Regions from separate parts of the Homo sapiens genome. Here regions 1, 2 and 4 are each linked to region 3. The links are contacts of gene promoters, found by promoter capture Hi-C in human tissues and cell types (Jung and others, 2019). All regions are on one chromosome and are shown on one strand. The core of a region is centred on a gene start or on the middle of the fragment in contact, and the rest is flanking DNA. Distances in the headings are between cores, read along the strand shown.

The links. Contacts are between HindIII fragments. The study calls those that stand out against the background at their distance.
Region 1: a contact is called between a fragment that was not itself captured here and the fragment with the promoter of NACA in region 3, in 12 of the 25 tissues and cell types used here (H1 embryonic stem cells, IMR-90 fibroblasts, adrenal gland and 9 more).
Region 2: a fragment that was not itself captured here is called in contact with the fragment with the promoter of NACA in region 3 in 3 of the 25 tissues and cell types used here (dorsolateral prefrontal cortex, lymphoblastoid cells and mesenchymal stem cells).
Region 4: a contact is called between a fragment that was not itself captured here and the fragment with the promoter of NACA in region 3, in 3 of the 25 tissues and cell types used here (bladder, lymphoblastoid cells and mesenchymal stem cells).

Annotation. Positions count from the first base shown.
Region 1 is chr12:56,986,673-56,989,787 of GRCh38, forward strand. The region is part of intron 2 of LOC124902945 (a long non-coding RNA gene); the gene reads right to left. Among named protein-coding and RNA genes, the nearest start is that of ACKR5, 6.3 kb to the right of the region's middle. The HindIII fragment of the contact is 5,723 bases long and covers 1-3,115 here.
Region 2 is chr12:57,169,486-57,172,813 of GRCh38, forward strand. All of the region lies in intron 20 of LRP1 (LDL receptor related protein 1), which reads left to right. Among named protein-coding and RNA genes, the nearest start is that of MIR1228, 23 kb to the right of the region's middle. The HindIII fragment of the contact is 3,835 bases long and covers 1-3,328 here.
Region 3 is chr12:56,723,612-56,726,821 of GRCh38, forward strand. NACA (nascent polypeptide associated complex subunit alpha) reads right to left here and starts at 1,688. Exons shown (of 9, transcript NM_001365896.1): 1 at 1,652-1,688; 2 at 841-912. The coding sequence starts at 910. RefSeq lists enhancers at 315-434, 1,494-1,543, 1,634-1,763. The HindIII fragment of the contact is 10,398 bases long and covers 1,495-3,210 here.
Region 4 is chr12:57,034,904-57,038,282 of GRCh38, forward strand. It overlaps MYO1A (myosin IA), which reads right to left. Exons shown (of 28, transcript NM_005379.4): 18 at 2,966-3,166; 19 at 2,645-2,738; 20 at 2,039-2,188; 21 at 1,869-1,937; 22 at 1,404-1,478. Among named protein-coding and RNA genes, the nearest start is that of MYO1A, 14 kb to the right of the region's middle. The HindIII fragment of the contact is 4,199 bases long and covers 1-3,379 here.

The DNA.
Region 1 (3,115 bases), core at 536-3,035, 260 kb after region 3:
TACAGCCTGCAGAACCATGAGCCAATTAAACCTGTTTTCTTTATAAATTACCCAGTCTCAGGTATTTATTATAGCAACACAAGAACGGCCTAACACACATTGTATACCAACACTCCTGGACCATGGTCTCCCAGAAAACAGACTTTACTGGGAAGCTACACATGGTTTCCAGGCACATTCAGTGGAAATCCTGCTCTGAGCCTGAGTTTCCTCATCCCACCCAGCATCCAGAATCAATCACTCCCCAGAAAAGTAGGGCACGATCAGGCTCTCTAGGATGAGAAGGAGAAGGCAAAAAAGTGAACAAGAGCAAGTCCCCTCCTGCTACAGTAGTTTTCTGGGGCAGAAAGATGTGGAACACCCACAGGGAGAGTCCAACCTCACAGGTAAAGAAAGGGGAAAGAAGGGAATGGAGCCTTGGAACCCACAGGAAGGAAGTACCCAGGGCTGCTGGGAAGGGGAATGGAATGACTTATGCAGGTGTCACAGGGCTCACCTGCTCACCTCCTGATATGCCCTGGGTGCTGGCTCCACTGCCCTCTGCCCTCCCCTGTCAGGGCCCACATCCAGGATCTGGACCCCTCAGACACTGAGAGGCTAAAAACATTGCTCATTTGAACAAGGACAATGAGGATGGTGGTCCAAAACCTTGCCCAAGCAGGGAAGGATATGAACCCTAGTAACTGTAAAGGTATTACTTCAGTTTGTATCAGGGTGTTGATGGACAGGAGGGATCTCCTTCTCAGGAGACTACAGAAAGGGGTACAGACTGGACCTCTGCTGTCCATGGAGGGTCCCTCGGTGTGAGGTCGAGGAAACTATTTCATAACTGGTGGGCAGGATGTAGAGGGGCAGGGAGCTGGGGGAGTAGGTGTGGGACAGAATAATCCAGGGTTTATTTGCACTGGGCCTCTCTCCCACTGTCCATGTTTGCCCAATTTCTGTCCCCTAATTGAAGGAAGAAGTGGAGATGGACTGGGAGGGGGAAGGAGAGGTTTCCTGCAGAAACCAGAGGCTAGCAAAGAGCCGCGCGCCCCCTGGTGGTTCTTCTCTAGCCCTGCAGTCACGACGTGGGCATCGGCCTGGGATCAGCCAAGGCTCTTCAGCTCATCCCAATGGCCACTCTCTCCAGCATCGGGGAGCCCCCATATCTCCCTGCACGGATCCTCCAAGAAGGAGGGAAACAGCAAGACTGCTGGCTGGTAAGAGACTGGACTACTGTTAATTAAGCAACATGGATGGTGCCTTGAGTGTGCTGCATACTAGAGGTTTGACAGACTCGGAGCCCCTTGAGGGCTCCGAGACTGAGTCCAGTCATTTTTGTATTTCCAGCCCCGGCAGTGCTAGCTTCTAGCAGAGATGAAGGAATGTTGAGGTAGCTGACACTGCAACATCTGGCTTCGCTTTCCATTTTCATCACTATTTCTTACATCATGCGACAATATGAGATTTCCTAAAGCCTCCATTTTTCTCATCTTTATAACGAGGGAGGAGAATCAAGATGACTTTGTCAAGTCCTCCCATCTCCAATTTCAGGGAGTCTAAGAATCCATATGCCTTTATTAAAATGGTGAAAACTTAGAAAGATGGGGTCTTGGGAAGCACTGGAGAATTTCTGACCAGCATACATTAGGTGCTCAACAAAAGTTAACAGAAACGGAAGAAATCTGGAACCAACAAGAGACTTACCACATCTACAGAGAGGCTGGGGGAGGGGTGCAGATCAGGAGATGGGAGAGTGAGGGAGAAACAGAAGCTGGGAGAGATAGGAGACCAAAGGAAGGGGGAAGGGTGGCGGCATGCGGGGAGGCTGCTAGTGCTGTAGGCGGCAGAGGGATATTAATAGTACCTGGGGCCCTTCCAGTCTCTTATCAGTCTTTTCAAGCTTCCTCTTCCTTAGACTGATGTCACACCCTCCCTTCTCACACTTGGGAAATCACAGAGGAAACAGTTGTCCTTCATCTAGTGAAAGATAGGGAATGGGAAGCAAAGACATTCACTTTCCCCTTTTCAAATCCCTCCGAGATCATCCTACAAATCCCTCAGCCTTCATGAAGGAGACACCTCCTTCCTCATGCAAGAAATTTCCTAGAATTCCCAGGGCTGAGTCAGCTCCACACAAGTGGATACCCAACATTGCTGTTTTTATCCTGACCCCAGTCTAGCAGAAGCTCTCCAAGGGTCATTTTTTTTTAAAGCTTTTGGACATCATGGGCCCCTTCGAGAATCTAAGGAAGGTTATAAGCCCCCCACATAACACAACAATCAAAAACTTGCTTATACTTTTCATACAGTTCACACCTAAAACCATTAGCTGCATGGAATCCAGCTCAAGAATCCTTGTAATATGGGCTTATTGACCTACTAGCTGTGTGACTGGGGCAAGTTATTTAAAGTTTCTGTGCTTCAGTTTCCTTGTCGATGGTAGTACCCACTCCATGAAGTTGTTATGAGGATTAAATGAGGTGATATGGATAAAGCCCCTTACAACTGTGTCTAGCCAATGGTGCGTATTCAATAAACATCAGCTGTTACTATTACTACATTTCTCTGTGGTAATTCATAGTGACATTTGGGAATGTTCCCACCCTTCTATGTAAAAAACACAACCCAAGACAGCCAAATAAAAGAGGAGGCTCATGTTGATCTAATTCAGAGAGGAAAAAAATGGCTGGTGGTAATAGGACTAGAGAGGTCTCTCAGTGTCAATTCCACAAGATGGGATTCCTTTTTCCTTATCCCCATGAAGTGGAAAAGGAGCATGCTTGTATATATTATCTCATGTATCCCATATAATAACCTGTAAGGGAAGCATCATTATCCTCACTTTACATATTAAGAAACTGACATTAAACTCCTATCTCTCACCAGACACAAAAATCAACTCAAGATGGATTAAAGACTTACATATAAGACCCAAAACTATTATTAAATTATTAGAAGAAAATCTAGTATTGCAGGAAAAATCTACTATCTAGTATAAGGAAAAGTCTCCTGGACATTGGACTAGGCAAAGAATTTATGACTAAGATCTCAGAAGCACAGGCAACAAAAACAAAAATAAACAACTGGGACTTAACTAAACTAAAAAGCTCTGCACAACAAAAGAAATAAG
Region 2 (3,328 bases), core at 615-3,114, 450 kb after region 3:
GAAAAATCATTGCCACACGCTGTTAATATCATGCGCTTTGCAGTTGGTGGCCTTGGGTTTGAGCTCCAGCTCTGCAGCTTATTATCTGGGTGGCCTTGAGCAAGTTACTTAATCTCCATGGGCCTCTGTGAGTTTCGTCTGCAAAGTGGGGTAATAATAGCACCAACATCACAGCGCTGATGTGGGAGTTTAGTGAGATCACGCACGAAAAGTGCTCAGCACACGGCCTGTGTTTGGTAAATAGTAGCTTGAGAAAAGGATGCTGCAGGCAGGGATGAATGAGCCTGAAGAGACAGAGGAGAGAGGGCCTGGCTCCACAAGGCTCCCAGTGCCCTGGCCTCTGGGGCCCAGCCTCGGGGGCGGTGGGGACCTAGTTTTCTGGAGGGATGGGCCCTCTCAAGGAATGCTGGCTTCCTAGCTCTGGAAGATGTGCAGATTTTTATGTGAAAACTACCAAATTTTTAACACTACAGTATTAGTTTCTCTCGTCTCACAGTTCTGGAGGCTGGAAGTCCCAGACCCAACTGTTGGCAGGGTGGGTTCCTTCTGAGGCCGTGTGGGAGATTCTGTCCCAGGCCTCTCCCCAGCCTCCGCGGTTTGCTGGCAATCTTTGCAGCTCCTTGGCTTGTCGAAGCTTGACCCGATCTCTGCCTTCATCTTCACACGGTGTCCTCCCTGTGGGCATGTCTGTCACCAGATCCCCATTTCCCCTTTCTGTGAGGACACCTGTCATATTGGATTAGGATACACCCTTATGACCTCATCTTAAGTTGACCATCTGCAAAGACACTATTTCCAAATAAAGTCATATTCACAGGTATTATGGGATAGGACTAATATCTTTTTAGGGAACACAATTCAAGCCATACCAACTGGCAGTTGATTTTAGAAGTTTTAAAAGGCTGGGTGCAGGCCAGGCATGGTGGCTCATGCCTATAATCCCAGCACTCTGGGAGGGTGAAGTGGGAGGATCACTTGAGGCCAGGGGTTCAAGACCAACCTGGTTAACATAGGGAGAACCCATCTTGAAAAAAGAAAAGAAAAAAAAAAAAGGCTGGGTGTGTTGACTCACACCTGTAATCCTATCACTTTGGGAGGCAAGGCAGGAGGATCACTTGTTTCCAGGAGTTTAAGACCAGCCTGGGCAACATAGTGAGACCCCTTTCTCTACAAAAAATAAACAAAATTAGCTGGGCATGGAGGCACATGCCTGTAGTCCCAGCTACTCAGAAGGCTGAGGTGAGAGGTTGAGCCCAGGAGGTTGAGGCTGCAGTGAGCTGTGAGCTCGCCACTGCACTCCAGCCTGGGTGACAGAATAAGACCTTGTCTCAAAAGAAAAAAAAAGTTTAAAAAAAACTACAGACCAAACTCTTCCTGCAGGCCTCATCTGACCCATGGACCACTAGATTACAGCCTCTGCCTTATAGAGTTAGGGCACATTCCCACCCTAGTAGGAGAAGACTGGACAGCGTTGAGTGCCCACCTTGAGCCCTGCCCTGAGAGGGAGGACAGAGAAGGCCACAGGAAGCTTGGGAAATAGTAATTGCGTCTCCAGGGCTATCTCTGTGAAGGGGAGGGTGAGGGGCACAGGTGATATCCCTTAGGGTTCTGAGAAGGGGCCTCTGGAGGCTGTGTGGTGTGGTGAGAAGAGCTCCCTGCCGCTCCCAGATAAGCTGGGCAAATTTGGACAAGTTGCTTCCCCTGAGCCTGGGCATCCTCCTTTATGAAATGAGCTGAGGTATGTGAGGCCTGGCGTGGAGGAGCAGGGTGTCACTATTGGTAGCAGTTGTTAACTATGGTATGAGCTGGATGGTCTGGGACCATTCAGGAGGAGTTGTGTTTAGACTGCAGGTAAATGGACAGGAGGGAGGGTCTTCCAGTGGGGATGGCATGGTCCGGAGAATGCTGTCGTCAAGACTTAGAGGGTGAAACTGAGCACTTCCGTAGGGTGACAGTGGGGCCAGGTGGAGCCGTTCAGACCGAGGGAAAGGCTCGTGCAGGGACAGTGGGGAATGAGGCTGTCCTCAAAGGGGGCAGATGATGACAGCAGGTGTAAATCGTGAGAGGCTTGATTTGGGAGGCACTGGGAACCTTTGAAGGATTTCCAAGCCGGAAGGTGCTGTGATGTAGGAGGTGATTTCGGAACACAGCCCTAGAGGAAGATTAGATTGAGAAGAGGTTCAGGGGCCCCAAGAAAGGAAAATCAGTTCAGAGACTGCTGCTGAAAGTCCCGGCATGAGATGAGAGCATCAGCTGGGTCCAGGGTAGGGAAGGGGGAGGAGCGGGGTGTCTGTGGCAGCATGAGTGTATGAGTGTGGGGCTCCACCAGGCAGTGCTCCTGCTCCTCTCCTGGCCTCCTGAGTCAGATCTCAGGACAGCAGCCAGAGTGATCCTGACAACATAAGTCAGATCATGCCCTGGCCCTGCCCTCCAGCCTGTACTGGCTCCCTGCACCCTTGGAACAAATGCCAAGCCCCTCTGCACGGCCTGCAGGGCCCCCACCCCTACCCCTCTGACCTGCATTCCTGCCCTCCCCTCCCCCTGCACTCTACTCCAGCTGTGGCGTTTTCTTTTTTCTTTTTTTTTTTTTTTGAGATGGAGTCTCCCTCTGTCGCTCAGGCTGGAGTACAGTGGCGTGATCTCGGCTCACTGCAAGCTCTGCCTCCCGGGCAGCTGTGGCGTTTTCTTTTCTTTCTTTTTTTTTTGAGATGGAGTCTCTCTGTCGCCCAGGCTGGAGTGCAGTGGCGCAATCTCAGCTCACTGCAAGCTCCGCCTCCCAGTTCACGCCATTCTCCTGCCTCAGCCTCCCAAGTAGCTGGGACTACAGGTGCCTGCCACCACGCCTGGCTAATTTTTTGTATTTTTAGTAGAGACAGGGTTTCACCATGTTAGCCAGGATGGTCTCGATCTCCCGACCTCGTGATCCGCCCGCCTTGGCATCCCAAAGTGCTGGGATTACAGGCGTGAGCCACCGCGCCTGGCCTGTGTGCTGTTTTCTGAAGTGCTGGCGTAGTCCTATCTCGGAGATGAGACTTTGCAGCGGCTGTTCCCCTTGCCTGGAGTGTGCCTCCAGGGATCCTCTGGGCTCACTCGCTCTTCATGCAGGCCTCTGCTCAGATTCCTTCTGCCCAGAGGTCTTCCCTGACCATCTTACCTGACAGATCACCCCCATCCCTCTCAGCTTCTACCCAGCTTTATCTCCATAGCTTTATCAATACCTGAAATTACAGTCTAGATTTATGGGTTATGTCTTGTCTCTCTTCCCCATTAGAACCTAAGCTCCATGAGGGTAGGGACTTTGTCTGGTTCAGTGCTGGCCCCAGGACAG
Region 3 (3,210 bases), core at 438-2,937:
AACTCTACTGTAACTCCAAAAAGGGACAGGAATTGCCCTTAAATAACAAATGAAATTTAAAAAAAACCAAAAAGGTGAGAATGAAAATTACAGCCTGAAGATTTCCTTCATTTAACGCTGCACAACTGACTCAGAAAGGCTATCATTTTAAGAACTTTTCATTACCTCCTCCTAAGTTTTCTACAGAGATATGTTTTAACCAGAATTTAAAATTAGCCTTCACAGTCGTTAATTTCGACGCTGAGGATAAAAGGATTTATTTCAATCCTGGGTTTCACACAATGATGCAGGAACTATTCCAGCACACTAGAAGTATCTCAGCACCACCAACCCATAAACAAGTTATCCGACCTAGGACGACTCTGGGGCCCAGTAGGACACATTTACCACCAGCACACATCTCATCCAGACATGTGATAAAGGCACAATGCCAAGCTCTGCTAACTAAAACCTTGATGCAACTTGCTGGCTGGAGTTTCACAAATGCTCCGGGCTCCTTGGCCTGTGTCATCTAGTTCCAATAGGTAAGAATCACTGAGCCCATTCCCTGCTGAGTTTTCCTATGTGAGGTGGGGGTTCCACAGGAGAGCTTCTTTTGAGGCGACAGGCATAACATAGAAAGCAAGCTAGGGTACTTTTAACGTCCACGAATCTTAAAAATATTATTTTTACTCCAAATCCCTAAAGAAGTATCTCCAGGATAGTAATTTTACGGTCTATCCTCCTTGGTAAAGCTGCAACCCCATCCTCCTAAAAAGTGTATTTCCCCTTGGTCATTTTGCCCACCAAATGGCTTTAGGGTTAATTTTAATTAATGGCAAGGAGGGTAGGGAAACCTACCTGTCTCAGCCTGGGGCTGCGGCAACTCCTGCTCTGTAGCAGGGACGGTTTCTGTGGCTTCGCCGGGCATTTCTGAAGGAAGGGAATAAAAAGGAGGCCTAAATTGATTGGGATACATTCACTTGCCCAACCCGGAGATAAGTATTCTTAAAAACTCCGAGGAGGGCTGTTAGAAAAAAATCGTGAGGGTGTTTGGTGACAACCTTCCCCAAAGCACCTGGGAATAAGAGGTAAATATGATGTGACCCTCACGCCTCTATCAAGGCCAGCAATTCCCACTGCATTCTCAACCCGAGGGAGAGGATCCCGGGCTGGCTCTCGATCATGGGAGACTTCAGACGCTACTGTGAACCCCCTCCACTCCTAATACTCACACTGGCTGGGCTGGGGCCTCCTGGACTACGTTTGCCGACTTTGGGGTACCAGGAGGGGAAAGACGGTGTTTTAAGTCCAACACTTGCTTGTCACAGGGAGAACGGTGTTACAGGTTCTAAGGCTGTGACCCCTTACCCTTTTCTGGATCCTGTGAAGCAGTTCCCAAAACAAGACGCACTCCTCTTCCGCCCTCAACACTGCAACTGCTCCCATCTCTGCAGGCTCGGATTCTGGGCCCGCCCCGCAGCCCTTCTACCCTGCTTTTGCCAGGACACCAACCGCAGACCCCATTTTGTCCGGAGGCCCAGGGGCGAGTAGGAACCCTGTGGCCCAGTAAAGCCTCCAACTCTCCTTAACTCTCAGTCCCCGGGGCGGCTTAGCCCGAAAGAAAGGCGGATGGCTGCGGATAGACAGTAGCGGCACAGAAAGTACTTACTGTGCAGGGAACGCGGAACCAAGATGGCGGCAGAAAGACCGAGCGAGAGCGTGACCCACGCCTGTTGCAGAAGGAAGCCTGGAGCGGAGGGGGTGGGACTAGGATCCGATTCCGGGTCAAGAGCTGCCGGCAGCCACTTCCTTTGACGAGTGACTGTCAGGCCGTTCCCACGGCGGGGGTGGTGACAAGGACTAAAGGGTAAGAATTTAGAACGGGACGCGCAGGCCTAGCAGGAGCTCTCTGCGCGGACCCACGCAGTCCTCAGAACTAAGCAGACTCCGCCCTCCGGTCCGCGAAGTGGCGACTGCGGTATTAAGTCGACCTCGCGATTTCTCAAATAGTGCAGGAAGAAGACATTAAATAGCGAATGCTAGAGACTGCATTCACAACATTGGAGGGTGGAAGTGACTTAGGCTAACCAGTTATTTTTGGAACACACGATGTGAAAACATTTAAAAGCTGCTGGACCCTCTCCCCCCCCATCAACAACAACAAAAAAACCCATTTTAAAACTTGAGAGATGTGATGGGTCACATATAACTTCAGTTCAGATTATAAATTTAATTCGATTTTTCTTGTTCTGTTCAATGACTAGAGAGACTCAAACGATGTCACCAGATGACAGCAACTCATGCGTGTTAAACTCTTCGTAAAACAATGTTAGCTGTACCCCCGCCCCCCCCCCAAAAAAAACACTTCTTGTAACCAAATTCTGTAATTATGTTCCAACCTTGTATGGATAACGTAATCCAGCTAAAAACTCCTCTGTCTCCCTAAATAAATGAAATCGTAACTTCTCTACTTCTGAAGGCTGACTCCATTCTTTGGAGGTTTTCTGGTTGGTCCATCCTCACACTGCCCTTGAATAAACTCTTTAAATAGATTCCGGCCCTTTTGATTGTTTTAGGTTCACGACAATTTAGCCGATGTTGAAATTATAAAGCTGCAGATTCTCCTTCCCAGAAAAAAAGAACATAGGCACATATACAATTCCTTTGCTTGCTATTTTGGGCACTTCTTGGATTTTTTTTTTTTTTTTTTTGAGTCGCTCTGTCGGCCAGGCTAGAGTGCAGTGGCACGATCTCGGCTCACTGCAATCTCCGCCTCCAGGGCTCAAGCAGTTGTCCCGCCTCAGCCTCCCGAGTAGCTGGGATTACAGGTGTGTGCCACCACCCCCGGCTAATTTTTTATTTTTAGTAGAGACGGGTTTCACCATGTTGGCCAGGCTGGTCTTGAACTCCTGACCTCAGGTAATCCGCCTGCCTCGGCCTCCCAAACTACTGGGATTACAGGCGTGAGCCACCATGCCCAGCCTGTTTGTTTTGTTTTTGGGACAGTCTCACTTTTATTGCCCAGGCTGGGGTGCAAAGGCACGATCTCGGCTCACTGCAACCTCCCCTTCCCGGGTCAAGCGATTCTCCTGCCTCAGCCTCCCGGGTAGCTGGGATTACAGGCATGCGCCACCACGCCAGTCTATTTTTTGTATTTTTAGTAGAGACGGGCTTTCTCCATGTTGGCCAGGCTGGTCTCCTCCTGACTTCAGGTGATCCGCCTGCCTC
Region 4 (3,379 bases), core at 701-3,200, 310 kb after region 3:
TGCAGTGAGCTGAGATCGCGCCATTGTACTCCAGCCTGGGTGACAAGAGTGAAACTCTGTCTCAAAAAATAAATAAATAAATAAATAAAAATTAAAAAAATGAGAATGGATACTAGCATTAGTTACAGTCAAGGCAGTGGCAAACTGGAATACTCAGAAACACTGGGGGAATCAGTGCCCAGTGCCCGCAGGCTTCTGTGGGGGTGTGATTTATTGAGACCCTGGTCTAAACCCAGCAGCTTCTGGGTTGACAATTAGTAGCTGCCTGACAATACACAGATGAAAGAAAAGGAAGAAGAAGGGCAGTCAGGAGATAACAGCAAAATCAGATTACAGGTCTCAGGTGTGTAGCAAGAAGCATGTATGGTGGGAAGGCAGACACTCTGGCACCAGCACAAGAGGTGATCAGGCAACTGAAGAGACCTGGAAGATGGAACTTCCCTGGGAAGGGGAAGAGGACGAGCAAATGAAGGCTCAGGAAGGCAAAAAAGAGGTCCAGAGCTTCAGAGCCCCCATTCCTCTCTTGAGCTGAGGGATCCAGACTCTCAAACAACAAAGAGGGGCTGCAAGCAAACATGTCTTATGTCTGAATGAGCACAGTCAGGGTCCTAACTATGGTCAAAAACCCAATCAGCGGAGGTCAATTACCAATTTGCTCCAGCCTCTGTCCAAGATCCCATGCTCTTCCTCCTTCTCTCTGGCCTTTCCCAAGGTTTCATTGGAAGTGCTTCTCCCTCCCTGGTTTCCTCCCTGACACTTCTCAGAAGCACTATTGCTATCTGACTGAAGTCTCCAGAAGTTACTCTTCTCTGTCCCTGTTTTTCTCCCCCTGGGAGCTGTCTGTAAGTTTGAATATGTAGGCCTTCCAGGTGGGTCTTCCCATCCAGCCTGACCCACGTCCTCCAGAATTAGGATAGGTCCTTCCTGAGATTTACTTTCTGACTTGCTGACAATAGTTTCAGAGGAAGTAGAAGGAAGATACAATTCGCCTACTCTCACCCCAACCCTAAAATGGATCTTGGGAGGTTGAGCTAGTTAATGTGTGGATCACTCTACTCTTCAATGAGGCTTAGCCTCTTCAACAGTTGTTAAACATCCAGCCCCAGGATCTTCACAAGGCTATTTGACCATAGACCAGATGGTGGGTGTGCTGAGACCCCTTCCTGCCACAAGGTTGCCTGGATTGTCCACTCATGCCAAAATGCTATCTGATTCTGCCCCCGAGTCCAAGGCACTGGGGCCTGGTCCCTGCAGGTAGCTGCCCTCTTCTCCTAGGACTTAAGTACATGCAGACTGAGGAAACTCTTGGGGGAAAGCTTTGGGTTGCCTCTTCTCAAACCCCTCTCCCAAACCTGTGCCTCCCTGCTCCATCCCTAACATCCACCCTAACCCCTACCACTTACCATGCTCTTGTAGATGAAATCTGCCAAGGTGAGGGCAGCCTCTGACCGGAAATATTTGCGATAATTCTTTCGGGCCTGGCAGAAAAGTACAAGAAAGGAGCCAAAGTGAAGATAGGCAGATTCTAGAAGAGGTTGTACTATTTTTCAACCACGCAAAGACCTGAGTAAGATAAAGAGCTGAGACTGTAGCTGGAAGTTGGAAGTAAAATCAGACAAGTTGGCAGTGAGGACACTTAGAGCAGAAGGCAAAGTTCTGCTGCCAAGTTAGGCATCTACCCACCCAGACACCTCTACAGGTCTCCCCTACAGGCCTCTCACTCCCAGACACCCACCCACACATGGACCGGCTGATACACAGAGGTGCGGCCTGGGTGCAGGCAGGACTAGCTCTCTGCTGCTCTAGCCAGCAGGTGACACAATCCAGGAGAAACAATGTGAGGAAACCTCTCTTCCACTCTCCATTACCTTCCACCCTCTCACAAAAGCCTGGATCAATAACACGGATGCCTTTATCTTCCCATAGCATTTCTTTTGCTGTAGAAAACATAGGAGTTGTTAGAAAAATGGCACCTCCTGAGCCACCTTCCATCTTCCCTATTAGAGTGAACAGAGTGGGACTTTGGGGATGACCGTACCATGTTTCCCCGAAACCAAGAGGAGATGAGGATCTGACTCTTTCGCATCAGTTGGTAGTGGGTGCGGCAGCGCCAGCCTCGGTAAATCTTCTGTATGAGTGTGGCCAGCTGCTGGAGTCTCAGGCGCCTCTGTTCTTCGAGGTAGAAAAGCTGTGGAGAGGTGGAAGGGGGTGACAGAGAGACTGGCTCAGGGGAACAGTGCTGTCCTCTCCTATACCCCACAGTACTGAGGCTTCCCAGCCAGGCCTTATTTGATCATTCCTTTGTCTTCTTAGTTTGCTCATTTATTCATTCAGTAAACAAGTATCTACTTAACTCTAACTTTGTAGCAGGCAGTAAGCTAGAAGTTGATCACCCCAACCCTCAAGGGCTCTGCCTCAGGCAAAGGCACTTAGAGCCATGCAGCACCAAGCTCCCCAGGCTCAGGGCAGTGTAGGAACCCAAGAGTTCAATTCCCAGGGATACGGTTCCTGCAGACAGGAAGCTTCCCATCCACTGGACAGTGATCCATTCCAGGTTATACACGCTCCCTCCCCCTCCAGCCTTTCTCAGGTGGGCTCTTCCACCTTCTACCCTCACCAAATGCTAATGCACTCTCTAACTCACAGTCTTGGGGCTTCTAATGAAGATCTTTGTCTTGCCAAAGGCCAGCTCCCCCGAGGACATGCTCAGCTCCCCCAGGACCTTCTCAACACCTTCCCTATGGAAGCAAATGACAGAAAGCTGCAGAGGGGTATCTCAGGAGAAAGTCCTCTTCCACCTTTCCCCTAATCCTTTCAGCCTCCAAGAAGTGATCATTCAATTCATTTCTCAAAGTATCCATTCACCCAGCTTCAGCAGATGTGCACTGCACCTCCAGGTCTCTTCCCCCAGAGATGTTTCCTGCACTGCCCTTTCCTGATGCCCAGTCTCCCCATGGGGTCTTACCGGTCTCCCCCATTCCAGTGAGGCCAGGTGCTCCGGCTCAGCAATCGGTACCTTTCCAGGAAGGGCCCATAACCCTGGCGGTGGGCATAGCCTGCCCGTCGCACCCGTACGTTCTCCAGCAGTCCCAGGTACCGAGCCTGGGTTGCCACCAGGTCTGAAGAGAACTGACCTCGCTGCTGATGCTCATTGGGCTTTATGCACCTGGTGGGAGGTGGGGTAAGGCACAGCCTTCAGGAGCTGACATCATTGCCAGTGTAACCCATCATATTCCCCTATGCTGCACACGGTGCACTTCACTGAAAAGTTTCAAAGAAAGTAGACACACTGGCCTCCCCAGTTTCACTCACTTCTATGTATTCCCTATCGAATCTGATGCTCTCCCCCTGTGGGACTCTCAGCTCCTTATCTGACTGT